Regions from separate parts of the Homo sapiens genome. Here region 2 is linked to region 1. Evidence: promoter capture Hi-C in 16 types of primary human blood cells and fetal thymus (Javierre and others, 2016). All regions are on one chromosome and are shown on one strand. The core of a region is centred on a gene start or on the middle of the fragment in contact, and the rest is flanking DNA. Distances in the headings are between cores, read along the strand shown.

The links. The method cuts DNA at HindIII sites, captures the fragments that hold promoters and counts their contacts. A CHiCAGO score of 5 or more calls a contact.
Region 2: a fragment that was not itself captured here is called in contact with the fragment with the promoter of OPN1SW in region 1 in 1 of 17 cell types (M1 macrophages); the score reaches 7.2 in M1 macrophages.

Annotation. Positions count from the first base shown.
Region 1 is chr7:128,772,526-128,779,977 of GRCh38, reverse strand. It overlaps OPN1SW (opsin 1, short wave sensitive), which reads left to right and starts at 4,184. Exons shown (of 5, transcript NM_001385125.1): 1 at 4,184-4,539; 2 at 4,824-4,992; 3 at 5,315-5,480; 4 at 6,090-6,329; 5 at 7,319-7,452. The coding sequence starts at 4,197. The coding sequence ends at 7,438. It overlaps CALU (calumenin), which reads right to left. Exons shown (of 7, transcript NM_001219.5): 7 at 6,578-7,452. RefSeq lists cis regulatory regions at 3,718-4,187, 3,088-4,187, 388-4,187, 1-4,187, 3,196-4,190 and 1 more. The HindIII fragment of the contact is 6,893 bases long and covers 435-7,327 here.
Region 2 is chr7:128,689,823-128,697,274 of GRCh38, reverse strand. It overlaps a transcript of GARIN1A not described here and the pseudogene IMP3P2. Among named protein-coding and RNA genes, the nearest start is that of GARIN1A, 21 kb to the right of the region's middle. RefSeq lists an enhancer at 3,194-3,694. The HindIII fragment of the contact is 257 bases long and covers 4,332-4,588 here.

The DNA.
Region 1 (7,452 bases), core at 2,935-5,434:
GGTGATTTTCAGCCTGGGAAGAGCACTGTATAACTAAATGCACTTAAGATGCCTCTAGTTTTTATTTTTTATTTTATTTTGTTTTTTGGTTTTGAGACACAGTCCCGCTCTGTTGCCCAGGCTGGAGGGCAGCAGCACAATCTCAGCTCACCGCAACCTCTGCCTCCTGGGTTCAAGCGATTCTCCTACCTCAGCCTCCCAAATAGCTGGGACTATACAGGAGTGCGCCACCATGCCCAGCAAATTTTTGTATTTTTTGGTAGAGACAGGGTTTCACCATGTTGGCCAGGTTGGTGAACACCTGACCTCAAGTGATCTGCCCACCTTGGCCTCCAAAAGTGGTGGGATTACAGGTGTGAGCCACCGTGCCCAGTCTGCCTCCAGTTTTTCTATTTTCTCTTCCTCCTTTACCCCATGCCCCTTCCTCAGAAGCTTGCCTCCTCCTACTCCGTGGCCTCCATGACTTTGGAGAATTTTTGTCCATGGCTTGAGCACCGGTAAGACTTTGCGCTTGGGTGAGGCTCTTTTTGGTCTGAGCCCCTCAGGGATTGGGTTGCCTCCAGCTTGGGCCCATTGTCTCCCTCTGCTGTTGGGGGAACAGGGTGGGAGGGCACTGTCTGGGAAGGCGTGAGGACAGTATTAGGAGGGGCCAAAGATGTGGCCACCTAGCCTTGTACACTGGATGTAAAAGGGCCCGGGGTGTCTTGCACCCTCGCCATTTAGCCTCCCATCAGAAATGTTTGCAGAGGTGGGCACCTCAGCAGAGCCCAGCGGACAGTGGAGGCTGGCTTGTTCCACGCAGGCCAGGCTCACACACAGTCCATGTGCCCTGCTCAGGGATAGGCACCTTAAGGTGACCTCTGGCCCTGGTCCTGAAGTCCTGCCCAGGGCAACGGATGAGCAGCTCTGCTCATCTGTACAAGGCTAGGTGGCCACATCTTTGGCCCCTCCTAATACTGTCCTCACACCTTCCCAGACAGTGCCCTCCCACCCTGTTCCCCCCATGACTCAGGCAATCTGACTGGACCCTTAGCTGGCTCTCCCCAGTAACCTCCACCAGGACTCCCACCTGCGGCCGAGTGTTTGTGTGGGATGTGCATGTGTGCGCATGCACATGAGAGTGGCGGTCTTTCGGAAATAATTAAGTCAGCTGGGCACAGTGGCTCATGCCTGTAATCCCAGCACTTCGGGAGGCCGAGGTGGTCAGATCACCTGAGGTCAGGAGTTTGAGAACAGCCTGGCCAAAATGGTGAAACCCTGTCTCTACTAAAAATGCAAAAATTAGCTGGGCATGGTGGCACAGACCTGTAATCCCAGCTACATGGGAGACTGAGGCAAGAGAATCACTTGAACCCAGGAGATGGAGGTTGCAGTGACCTGAGATTGGCTCAGATCCTACTGAGGAGATGCTGGAGACAGGAGAGAACTATTTTGTTTTGCTTCAGGTTTCATTGATTTTTCTCCATTCTTTATTCATTTTTAATTTCAATGTTTTCTGCTCTGCTTTTTAGTATCTGCCCCTATTTATTTTAGATTTGATTCACCCTTTCAGCTTCTCAAGGTGAAAGTTTAAATTTTAAACATTTATTGTCTAGTATAAATACTTAAAGCTATAAATTTTTCTCTAAGTACTGCTTTAGCTGACTCCTTCAATTTCTAATACTTTTTTGTTGTTATTCAGCTGAAATTCTTTCAGTTTTTCCTTATGATTTCTCTTTTGACTCACAGGATATTTAGATGTATATTGCTTATTCATAAGTGTTTGGGGGATTTTCCAGATATCTTTTTGTTATTGATCTATCTGTAAGTTCACTGATCCTTTCTTCTGCTGTCCAATCTGCTGTTCAGCCATCTAGTAAATTCTTCATTTGACATGTTGTAGTTTTCAGTTCTGGAATTTCCATTTGGCTATTTTATTTTTCCCATTCTTCTGCTGAGATCCATTAACTCACGATGATCATTTTTTTCCTTCCAGTTCTTGAATATATTTATATCGCTGTTTGAAGTTTTTCCTGCTGGTGCCAACTTCTTGGGTCATCTCAGGTTCTGTTTCTATTGCTTGCTTTTTCTTTTGGCTATGACTCATATTTTCCTGTGGGTTTTTTTTTTCTTTCACACGCCTTTTAATTTTTCATTGTATATTAGACATTGTAGATAGTGAACTTTAGAAACTGGGTTATCTTCCATTGAGGGGTGTTGATTTTTGTTCTAATAAGCAATTAACTTACTAGTTGATCACCTTGAACCCGCTGAGGCTTGGTTTTATCTTTTGCTAGTATGAGTCAGCTTTGGCTTTGACCTTACTCTCAGAACAAATATTTAGTCCTGGGATATAGATTTTAGCTCTATGGTGTGGCCTTTTGGGAGTTTCAAGTAGAAAGCCCTAAGTGTTTACCCAGACCCTCTGACTTGGGATTCAAATTCAAACTCTTTCTCTGCTACAGTGGGTAACAGTCAAAATCTGCTTAGCTCTTTCAGACCTCCAGTGGTTGTCTTTTACTGGGCTCTTGGAAATTCCTCCATCCACAGTTCAGCAGTCAGCCTATGATTTGAGGGGAGTTTATATGCAGATTTAAAGACTTTGCCTTCTGTGGCTTCTTTCATTCCAGGAAATCCACCTTCAGCTGTTCTGGAGTCCCAAACTGTCCTCTGTCTCCTGTCCTCTGTCCTCTGACTCTTCAAGCCAAAAAAGGCTGGGGCTTTCTGCTCAAGTTCTAGCTATCCTGTGCCATTTATACTCGGGAGTACACTCAGGGAAAAAAAAAAACAACAATGTAGATGGTTCTTTTCATTGAAGAGTTGAGTTCCTTTCAGTTTCTGCCTGCTTTGGATACTTTAGGTGTTTTCAAAAAGTTGTTTTTCATATTGTGTCCAGTTTACAATTTTTTTGCCTAAGGGGGCATTCATCTAATAAACTATTCTGCCATTACTGGACCATCCTTTCACTTTTAAACTTACTTATACCTAAAGTGTGTCACTTTTAACTCATCTATATATATAGTCTCGCTCTGTCCCACAGGCTGGAGTGCAGTGGCGTGATCTCGGCTCACTGCAGGCTCCGCCTCCCGGGTTCACGCCATTCTCCTGCCTCAGCCTCCCAAGTAGCTGGGACTACAGGCGCCCACCACCACACCCAGCTAATTTTTTGTATTTTTAGTAGAGACGGGGTTTCACCGTTAGCCAGGATGGTCTCGATCTCCTGACCTTGTGATCCACCCATCTCAGCCTCCCAAAGTGCTGGGATTACAGGCTTGAGCCACCACGCCCGGCCAACTCATCTATATATTTATGATCTGCTGAGGTGGAAAAGATTCATTCATAAAGCCTAAAGTGTAGTACTGAGTACAAGTGCAGGTGGAACTTAAAGCAGAGTTGGTGTCACTGGGGTGGGCTGCACAGAAGAGGTGTTTGTGAGGTAGGCTGTGAGGGCTAGATAAGACTTCAATGAACAGACAGGAGGAAGACTGTGGCGACTTGTTGAGCTAAGGGTAGGGGTAGGCATGAACATGGCGTAAGGACAGTGAACAGACCCACCTCCCTGGCTGGAGGTCTGAGTAGGAAAGGCACACTCTTTGAGTAGATTCAACACAAAGAAATGGAGGCAGCCTGGCTCAGGGATGCCCTAGACCTCTAGGCATTGTCAAGTTGCCTAAGTCCTGTTCCATCAAGGCTGTTTACTGATGTGCTTCCAGGGCACTCCCCACTCCCAGCCCTTTCCTGCAGCCCAGGGCTGGTTCCTAGCCTCTCAGCAGACTTAAGATGGGCACCTTCCACAAAGGGGCAGATGAGTTGAGGAAAACTTAACTGATACAGTTGTGCCAGAAGCCAAAATAAGAGGCGTGCCCTTTCTATAGCCCCATTAAAAGAACAAAAAAGTGGAAGCATCTTCAGTGAATATGGGTCAGCACCTCCCAGACCTCAGGGAGTCCACTTCTGTTCATCCCAGCACCCAGCATTGCATATCCAGATTATTTGAGCCCAATCTCTTATCCTCTGAAGAACACAATCGGCTTTGGGGCCACAAAAGGTTTAGGTAGTGGTTTAGGGATTTCTAATCCCAAACTTTGTCCTTGGGAGGTTTAGGATTAGTATTGATCATTCACAGAGCCCAAGTGTTTTTAGAGGAGGGGTTTTGTGGGGTGGGAGGATCACCTATAAGAGGACTCAGAGGGGGGTGTGGGGCATCCATGAGAAAAATGTCGGAGGAAGAGTTTTATCTGTTCAAAAATATCTCTTCAGTGGGGCCGTGGGATGGGCCTCAGTACCACATTGCCCCTGTCTGGGCCTTCTACCTCCAGGCAGCTTTCATGGGCACTGTCTTCCTTATAGGGTTCCCACTCAATGCCATGGTGCTGGTGGCCACACTGCGCTACAAAAAGTTGCGGCAGCCCCTCAACTACATTCTGGTCAACGTGTCCTTCGGAGGCTTCCTCCTCTGCATCTTCTCTGTCTTCCCTGTCTTCGTCGCCAGCTGTAACGGATACTTCGTCTTCGGTCGCCATGTTTGTGCTTTGGAGGGCTTCCTGGGCACTGTAGCAGGTACTGCAGGGGAAAAAGGGGTTAGGGGAAGGCAAAGGTTGCTACTCCACTGGAGGGGGTTCCTAAAGAGGAGTCTGGGGGAAATGAGTCTGGTGCTTTTTAAAATACTGGGGTACAAAGCAACCCAGACTAGAAGTTTGGCTAAAATAGGATGTTTGAGTCTTCACTCCAAATGTCAGTCCAGCCCTGTCTCTCTGTGCTTGCTCCACCCGATCTGTTTGCCACTCTGCCAGCCAGGCTGGGTGGGGCTCTGTCTAGCCCATTATCCTCACATTTCACCACAGGTCTGGTTACAGGATGGTCACTGGCCTTCCTGGCCTTTGAGCGCTACATTGTCATCTGTAAGCCCTTCGGCAACTTCCGCTTCAGCTCCAAGCATGCACTGACGGTGGTCCTGGCTACCTGGACCATTGGTATTGGCGTCTCCATCCCACCCTTCTTTGGCTGGAGCCGGTGAGAGTGCAGGGCAGTGGTGCTGAGTTAACTAGGAGCTCAGGTTGATGTGGGTGGAAAGAGAGCTTGGGTATAACTATTTAGTCTTTGACCTCTACTTTTAAAGAGTTGCAATATGAGGCGAAAGGGCAGTGGGAGACAAGTGCTAACGTTTACTCTGCAGTTGGAATTGCTGTAGCTTCTCCCAGTCAGGACAGAAAACCCCCCTGCTTGAAGCCTTAGGGCATTCCGTGGGTTCTAAGTGGAGAACACAATCCAGGCATCTCAGCTCCCACTGCACTCTTGTGGAGAGTCCAGTGAGCAAGTGTTTGGTCCTTTGCAGGTTCATCCCTGAGGGCCTGCAGTGTTCCTGTGGCCCTGACTGGTACACCGTGGGCACCAAATACCGCAGCGAGTCCTATACGTGGTTCCTCTTCATCTTCTGCTTCATTGTGCCTCTCTCCCTCATCTGCTTCTCCTACACTCAGCTGCTGAGGGCCCTGAAAGCTGTGAGTGGCATTTGATAGTCAGGGAAGAAGGGGTTCGGGGCTCCACATGAGAAGGAAGAGTGCTCTGAAACATAAGATGCCTGGAAATGTCCATAGCCAGAGAGGGTATCTAAAAGCAGCAAAGGAAGTAGGAGGAGGGAGAATGATGGAGATCCAAAGGAACTAGGCCAGGAGATGGGACAGAAAAGAGGCAATCAGAGTGGATGCCCCCTCCCCCATCCCACAGAAAAGCATCCAGAGACCGGGCGCAGTGGCTCACGCCTATAATCCCAGCACTTTGGGAGGCCGAAGCAGACGGATCACCTGAGGTCAATAGTTCCAGACCAGCCTGGCCTACATGGCAAAATGCTAAAATGCGAAAATTAGCTGGGCATGGTGGTGTGTGCTTGTAACCCCAGCTACTCAGGAGGCTGAGACAAAAGAATCACTTGAACCCGGGAGGTGGAGGTTCAGTGAGCCGAGACTGCACCACTGCAACTCCAGCCTGGGCAACAGAGCGAGACTCGGTCTCAAAAAGAAAATTAAAAATTAAAAATTAAAAAAAAAAAAAAAAAGCATCCAGAGGGCCAGGAAAAAGAGAGATGTGATGCTTTCCGTGCTCCACCCCAGGTTGCAGCTCAGCAGCAGGAGTCAGCTACGACCCAGAAGGCTGAACGGGAGGTGAGCCGCATGGTGGTTGTGATGGTAGGATCCTTCTGTGTCTGCTACGTGCCCTACGCGGCCTTCGCCATGTACATGGTCAACAACCGTAACCATGGGCTGGACTTACGGCTTGTCACCATTCCTTCATTCTTCTCCAAGAGTGCTTGCATCTACAATCCCATCATCTACTGCTTCATGAATAAGCAGGTAAAGCTCTTTATTCACATTCCTATGGTCCAGAAGACCCTGGTTCTTTTCTCACCATTGACTTTTAACTCAGAGCACCCTGGACTCTACCCAGGTTTCTAGTAGACGAGGGAAGCCACAAAACCCCCGAGTAGGTTGGGAAGCCTTTGGTAAGCACAGGGAGGAAGGCACGGTTATCAAGACGAGAAAATAGAACCCCGGAGGAAAGAACTTGAGTCAGGAAAATGAAGTTGCTCCAAAGAACAGGATGAATGAAAGCATTTTATTGAAAAACTCGTGCAGCAAACCACCATGGCACACGTTTACCTATGTAACAAACCTGCACATCCTGCACATGTATCCTGGAACTTAAATAAAATTAAAAAAATAAAAATAAAAACTCAGATTCCTCTCAATTTTCAGTCCTTGCATTTAATAATTTCTTAATCATTTCCCTTCCAACTTTTAGCCTGCACGAGCATGTGTGAAGCACAGAAATCATACCACATGCAAAAATCTCTAAAATATCTTATCATCTGAAGGTACTGGGGGATTTCCTATCCCATCTGAAATCCGAGCTAATAAACACCAAACCCTAAGTGGCAAAAACCCTACTTTCAGATGGTATTGTTTCCTCAATCCCAGAGGTAGACTCAAAACTAATTTGAAACCTCCCTGGATAGAAGAGAATTGGCAGTCCTTTCCAGCTGGGAGCACCTGCTAGTAATGGAGGGGCCTCTGCTGACAGTGCTTTTATGAAGCAGGATGGTTTGTGAATTTACCAACAGTGAGGTCTCAGACTTGACCAGTTTAGGATTACCGTAGACCCAGGAGTAGTTCTAGACTGGAATCTAGATAGTTTTCAGGATGGGGAAGATAGATTCAAAACCACCTAAGGGCATTCTGGGTACAAAGCATTGTGCAAGGCTTTGGTGATACAGAGAATAAGGTCTTTTTTCCCATACTTCCTCATCTGCCAAGGTTATCTCCAATTGTACCTTTCTCTCCAGTTCCAAGCTTGCATCATGAAGATGGTGTGTGGGAAGGCCATGACAGATGAATCCGACACATGCAGCTCCCAGAAAACAGAAGTTTCTACTGTCTCGTCTACCCAAGTTGGCCCCAACTGAGGACCCAATATTGG
Region 2 (7,452 bases), core at 3,211-5,710, 83 kb after region 1:
TGGCTTGATCTGGGGAGACCTGTAGGGAGAATTCTGGACCCAGGAGAGCTGCCCTGCAGGAGCCGCCTGTCTTTTCCTGCTGGCTTTACCCTTCCCTCCAAGCCCCACTCAGAGTGAATCCCAACTAAAACCAAGGTTGTGTAGGGGATCTGAACCCCACTTATTAAATAGGTTTTACTGTCCTAGGAGCAACTTTGTAATGATTTTCCAAACTGTGAACAACTTTTGGTTAAGCACCAAGAACAAACAAACAAAACACACACACAAACCCCAAAGTACCATCTTCCCTTGATTTACATGATGGTTAACTTCCTGGAAAATTCTGTGTATATTAAAATTGGGTGAGTGGGTTGGGGGAGTTAGGGTCTAGACTCAAGTAGTTGTAAACATGTTCTTCACCTGCCAGAATGGTCAGAGTGGCATAAGAAGATCATTATTTATTCTCTGTAGGGCTTCCAGCATCATGGCCCTCAACTGCCAGAATGCCGTTAGTGCCCTCCAGCCATGGTGACTCCCCAAACACCCCATCATTTAAGAACTTCCAAACACCTTCTGTGGTGGAGTTCTGCCCACTGGGACTCATTGACCTAGAATCCTTTTTCTTTTTTTTGAGACAGGGTCTTGTTCTATTGCCCAGGAGGCTGGTTTTGAACTCCTGACCTCGAGTGATCCTCCTGCCTCAGCCTCCCAGAGTGCTAGGATTATAGGCGTGAGCCACCACACCTGGCCTGACTTAGAATGTTAGACCTGAAAAAAGTTAATAATCTTGTTACACATCTCAGTCCAGACAAAAAACTGTGTTGACAGAAAGACTAGAGAAAGTTGATACAAAGACATCTAAAATGGCCAAGAGGACATAGAGATTATGGGACAGATTAGAAAAATGAGACACAGAGGGGCAGTGGGCAGTTTCAAAACACAATGGACAAAAAGGTGTATAGAAGTTCCACAGAAGCAGCCAGGCACAGGGGCTCACGCTTGTAATTCCAGCAACTTGGGAGGCTGAGGCAGGAGGATCACTTTGAGCCCAGGAGTTCGAGACCAGCTTGGGCAATATAGCAAGACCTCACCTCTACAAATAATAATATTTTTAAAAATTAGCCAGGCATCGTTGCTCACCTGCAGTCCCAGCTACGTAGGAGGCTGAGGTGGGAGAATAGCTGCAGCCCAGGCATTCAAGACTGCAGTGAGCCATGATTGTGCCACTGCACTCCAGCCTGGGTGATAGAGTGAGACCTTGTCAAAAAAAAAAAAAAAAAAAAAAAAGGAAGTTAGGAAGGCAGGGAGGGAGGAAGGGAGGGAAATTCCACACAAGCATCTACACTTCCTTGGGAATGTCTTAAAACCTGAAAAATATTATTTTGCACAATGTGTAGTATAGGTATGGAATTTATTCTACTGGAGGAAAAGGAAATAAATAAAATAATATATGGCTGGGCATGGTGGCTCACACCTGTAATCTCAACACTTTGGGAGGCCGAGGCGGACAGATCACTTGAGGCCAGGTGTTCAAGACCAGCTTGGCCAACATGATGAAACCCTGTCTCTACAAAAGAATCTACAAAAATTAGCCAGGCATGGTGGCCCACACCTGTAATCACAGCTACTGGGATGGCTGAGGCATAAGAATCACTTGAACCTGGGAGGACGAGGCTGCAGTGAGGCGAGATCACACCACCGCACTCCAGCCTGGGCAACAGAGCAAGACTCCCGTCTCAAAGAAAAAAAATAAAAATAAAATTTAAAAATGTTCAGGTGGACTTGGGCAGTGGTGTAATCTATACTTCTCCTTGTGGTGACCATGAAGATGCTGTATTCAGACCTCCAGCTGCAGGGAGACCCCATTCCGGGGAGATGCAGATTCCTCTAACGTGCACTGAATTTAAGGGTTCATTGTCAGTCTGCTGAAACTTTCTTGGAACTGTGCTGCAGCCTGAGACTCTCCTACCCAGTCCTCCTTGATTTCCCACTGGTCAAATCCAACCAAAGCCGGACAGCATGCGCCTCCCTTGATACAGTCCATAGAGGTTCCCAGCCTCTGGGGCAGAGAGCAGGATGGTGGAGGGTGGACAGTGGCTTGGCCTGGCCTGGGGTGGGATGGGAGCAGGAGCTTAGAGAAGATACCCAGCGTATTACCAAAGACTTGGTTTGGCCTGCAAAGATAGTAACATCTTTTTCTTTAAAGGTTAGACATAGTGAATAGAGTTCCTTAAGCCCTTGTTGATTGGCTTCTCATTGTTTGCAGCTAAACGTGAGACTGGTATAGACCTTAAAGCAAGAAGGCAACTTGCTATAGAGATAATGTCAGTACACAAAGACCAACGGAACTAGGAAGAAAGGAGTCCAGAAAAGAGCTGAGCAAAGCAAATTTCAGTCTTTAGTGAAGAAGGCTGGAAGTTCAGCCTTCAGAACTCCATGCATGATATTCACAGTTGAGTGACTATATTTATGCCTAAATTAACTGCCTTGCAAAATATATTTAGTCTTCATTTCAGTTTGTGAGTTTAGTCATTCTCCACAAACCCTTTTCCTGTGCTTATAACCTCCCAAAGTATTGTTATATATAGATGCATGGACTGGGTGGACTGAATTCTTATGCTCAGAGAGGAAAAATTCTTGTGACCAGTACCCCTTATAGAATTGTCCTATCAAAGTTTACTTACATTATCATGGGTTATATGTTACACGTGGACTAAAGTCCATGTGCTGGTTTTTTTCTTTCTTTCTTTCTTTTTTTTTTTGAGACAGAGTCTCACTCTCTTGCCCAGGCTGGAGTCCAGTGGCACAATCTCGACTCACTGCAACCTCTACCTCCCGGGTTCAAGCAATTGTCCCTGCCTCAGCCTCCCGAGTAGTTGGGATTACAGGCACCCACCACCATGCCTGGCTAATTTTTGTATTTTTTAGTAGAGACGGGGTTTCACCATGTTGGCTAGGCTAGTCTTGAACTCCTGACCTCAAGTGATCCGCCCGCCTCAGCCTCCCAAAGTGCTGGGATTACAGGCGTGAGCCACCATGCTCGGCCAGAGTTCTTGCTTTTACACTAAAAAGTTTCCAACACAAGAAGCTAACAATTCTACAGTGCAGCACCAAACCACTTTTCACTGTCTCCCAAGGCACAGTCATTTAATAATCAGTAGTCCAAGTACTAAGAATACTAAGAAAATTTCCTTGAAAACAGGCACCACGCCCTCTCCCCTCCTTGGCTCTGTGCATGGCCTGCCATTGAGGAACCTAAGAAACTACAACCTGCTGACACTCTTGTGGGGAGCGCCCTTATAGAATCTCCAGCATTGGTTGTCGTATCTGTAAAAGACAGGCAGCCGTGGAGACTAGGAGACCAGCTAGGCTTCCAGATCGAAGTCATTGCACTCCCCGTTGTATGATGGCATGTGTTGCTTGATCTTGGATGAGCCGACCCAGGTGACAAAGTCCTCCATGCGGCATGTGACAAAGAAAGGTGGAGTCGGTAACCACATCCAGGGCCTACAAGCACATGGCTTTGCTCCATGAAGGCCCTGCAGCCTGAGGAGAATGGTAGGGAGGAGGCAGCAGCGACAACGACAAGGACAAGGCCTGGACAAAGCCCTGACAATGTCGCAGAGTTCGAGCAAGCCATGTGTGGGCACCAGGCCCAGAGCATACAGCTTGTGCAGCAGTGTTTGGGCAGCTCTGGCATGCAAGGCTCCGCTGGCTGCAGCACGGGTCGGCCTCCCTCTGCAGCCAGGGAGGCAGCCCGTGGAGGCTGTGGTCCGTGACCTCCCATTTCAGGAAGTCCACCTGCTCCAGCAGCTTCTGCTCATGGAACTTAAGCTTCAGCACCACGATGACTACAGACAGAGTGGCAGGACCCCAAAACACCACATTCCTCTTGCATCCAGATATGGCCCTTGAACGGAGTGAGAGGAGGGATGGAGGTCACAGACATTTCTTTCCTTCCTTGTCCAAGGCAGTGTACTTAATTTGGAGACTTTAGAAAGATTATAAAAGCAACTTAGAATACTCTAACTGTGACTATTTCTTTGCATGTAATGGATATATGGTGTGTTTCTGGCTGCTGTTGCAATTATTAACACCACAAAACAATGTTTTCTTTGGACATAATTTAAAAATTCAGTGATAGTTTACTAAAAGAAAATTATCTGTATCCCCAATGGGGAAATAAATCGATTTGTTCTAAATCAGGCAGGAATCAGAGACAGAGCAAAATCCAGAACCGCCTTCTCTTAGACTATCTGTAGATTGTGGTAATTCTGGTGGTTTCAAGTTACAGCTTCTGTAAATGGCCTCAGCCTTAATAACTCTAAATATTCATTTTAAATTATGAAGCTTTACCACTCTCAGTGATTGGAACCACTTTTGAAGCCATGGTCTTGGATTTCTCGAGATGAGCCCCTTGTGTTTTGTTTTCTCTAAATTGATGACCTGTGTTTCTGGGAGGTCACTAATGAACCCAGAACCACGCGTTTCTATACATTCATGCTCCCAGCTTCTCTGCTTCCCTGCCGGCTGCCTCACCTACAACAGTAAAGCCCTAATTAACCCGCTGCTTATTTTTCTCAAGACTTACAAAGGCATTTATGAAGCTTCCATATAATTTCCACCACATCTTTTAAGAGGGTCCATTTGGGTGTTATTCCTTGAGGACATTTTCTCTTTTCTCTGAATTCCATGTCAGAAACTTTAAGATGCATTTTTACATTGTCTTGGGGATTGTTTTTGCAGATGCCATGTCCTGGTGGAGCATAATTAACTCCGGATAACAATGTTTTGTTTCTTTTCTCTTTTAAATGGTGTGTGTATTGGCCATTAGAAATTTCACCAATCCGTGTGGTGTTTTCATCTAAGAAATAGATTCTGAGAAATCAACTTCAAGGATGAGCCCAGTCAGCAAGGGCTGTTGTTTCTTCCCTCATTTTGAAGGAGAAACAATGTGGAGCAGCCACAGCTGGCTATGGCAGAAAGGGATTTATTTAACAAGAAATAGACACTTTAACTGGGTCAGTCTAGTAGGACCCAGGCACTGGCAGGTACACACATATGGCTGGCACGTTTCCCTACGCAGCTTCCATGTTTCTGGGCACAGAACCACATCAATTAGACTTCATGGGTGTACACGTAGAAAACATGCAGCCAACCCAAGCCGAAGGGAATTTATTGGAAGACTATTGGGGAGCTCTTCATACCAACTGAAGGTTAAAAGAACCAGGCATGGAGAATAGGCCAGAACCAAAAAGCAGTAAGCTGGAGGGAAGCCCAGCGACTGTCTCATGGCCGGGACTGCCTGGCCAGGATGGTGGCCCCACTGCGACAACGCCTGCATGGAGATGAGTGATGTTCCTGCTCACGTTACACAATTCAGGAAGGGGGCATCAAGCTAGCTAAGTCCATACCAGGGATCTGAAGGATGAAGGGAGGGAGTGGTTACTGGATACAGGAGAGTCTAGTAGAGGAAGCCACCACGAGAGGAGCAGTTTTGTTACCGGAAAGGGGTCCCGATCCAGACCCCAAGAGAGGGTTCTTGGACCTGGTACAAGAAGAACTCAGGGTCAGTCCATAAAGTGAAAGCAAGTTTATTAGAGAATAGCAGCCCTTTCGCATGCTAATGCATTATAATGAGCATATAATGAGCAGTGGGGACGACCAGAGGTCCCTTTTATCACCATCTTAGTGTTGGTGGGTCTTGGCCAGTGGTGTCTTTGTGACCTGTATCTTGTGCCAACCTCTTATCTCATCCTTTGACTAAGAATGCCTAGCCTCCTAGGAATGGAGCCCAGTAGGTCTCAGCCTTATTTTACCCAGCCCCCATTCAAGATGGAGTTGCTCTGGTTCAAATACTTCTGACAGTTTCCCTCTGTTAACAGCCTACCTTATGTCACCACAAGGGAGGAAATAGTTGTCCTGACCCCATTCTCCTCATCCTCTCTGATCTCCTGCCTGGGTTTCCCACTGGCCAAACCCACCTGGAAACCAGACGTGATGAGCTCTTAGATGTAGATCAGCTTGGAGAACATGCAGGAACCAAGGGAATTCTGGGGCACAGAACTTCCAGCCATGGAAGGGAAGGGTTTAATCTTCACCTTTTTTCCCTTCCCCTTTCCCCCATCCCCCAAATTGAGCTTCAACCATCCTCTGCTTTGATTCAATCTATATTCGATGTGTACAGTATTATGAATAGTCAAAGATATAGTACATACTTGAATTATATTTCTTTTTTTGTACAACTTCTTCCTCTCAGAGTTAATATTTATATTATTTTTTGTTTGCTTGGCTTAATAGTCCTATTCCTAACACACCCCTAAACTTTGCCATAAGCGTAAGTCTCTCAGTGCATTCAAACACATCAGGTATTCCATCAATTTGATCTTTGCGGAGATGTATTTAGCAGAGTCCTCTCTCCTGCTCCAGTAAGAGCTGACTGCTTTCTGGGGCTGCTGTTCTCCTGTCATTCTGGACTCTCTCTTCATCTCTCTTCACCTGGATATTGCCTTCACTTTTTTCCTACATTGAACCCACCACTTTCCTGGAGCCGTGTTTTTCTGAGTTGACTTCATTTTAATTGCGTACATCCTCTAGGAGTTTCTTAAGGAAGAGTTGTATGAAAAATTGCATAGAACATGTGGAAAAAGATTTTTTAAAAATAAAAAATAATTTTTAATTGCATGTATGAAGTTTGGAGATTTTAATACCTAAGGGTGAAAGTGATTTCACCAGGTGCACAAAAATCATTCCACCAACTGAAAACTGAACTGCGGCTGCCATTTTTGTCTCCTCCTACCATTAGGAGAGCATGGTGTTATGTGTAGAAGGGGGTTTTGGAGTTGTTAGAGTGGATTGACCGTTATTATTATTATTATTTATTTATTTATTTTTATTGATCATTCTTGGGTGTTTCTCACAGAGGGGGATTTGGCAGGGTCATAGGACAATAGTAGAGGGAAGGTCAGCAGATAAACAAGTGAACAAAGGTCTGGTTTTCCTAGGCAGAGGACCCTGCGGCCTTCCGCAGTGTTTGTGTCCCTGAGTACTTGAGATTAGGGAGTGGTGATGACTCTTAACGAGCATGCTGCCTTCAAGCATCTGTTTAACAAAGCACATCTTGCACTGCCCTTAATCCATTTAACCCTGAGTGGACACAGCACATGTTTCAGAGAGCATGGGGTTGGGGGTAAGGTCATAGATCAACAGCATCCCAAGGCAGAAGAATTTTTCTTAGTACAGAACAAAATGAAGTCTCCCATGTCTACTTCTTTCTGCACAGACACAGCAACAATCTGATTTCTCTAACTTTTCCCCACCTTTCCCCCTTTTCTATTCCACAAAACCGCCATCGTCATCATGGCCCGTTCTCAATGAGCTGTTGGGTACACCTCCCAGACGGGGTGGTGGCCGGGCAGAGGGGCTCCTCACTTCCTAGTAGGGGCGGCCGGGCAGAGGTGCCCCCCACCTCCC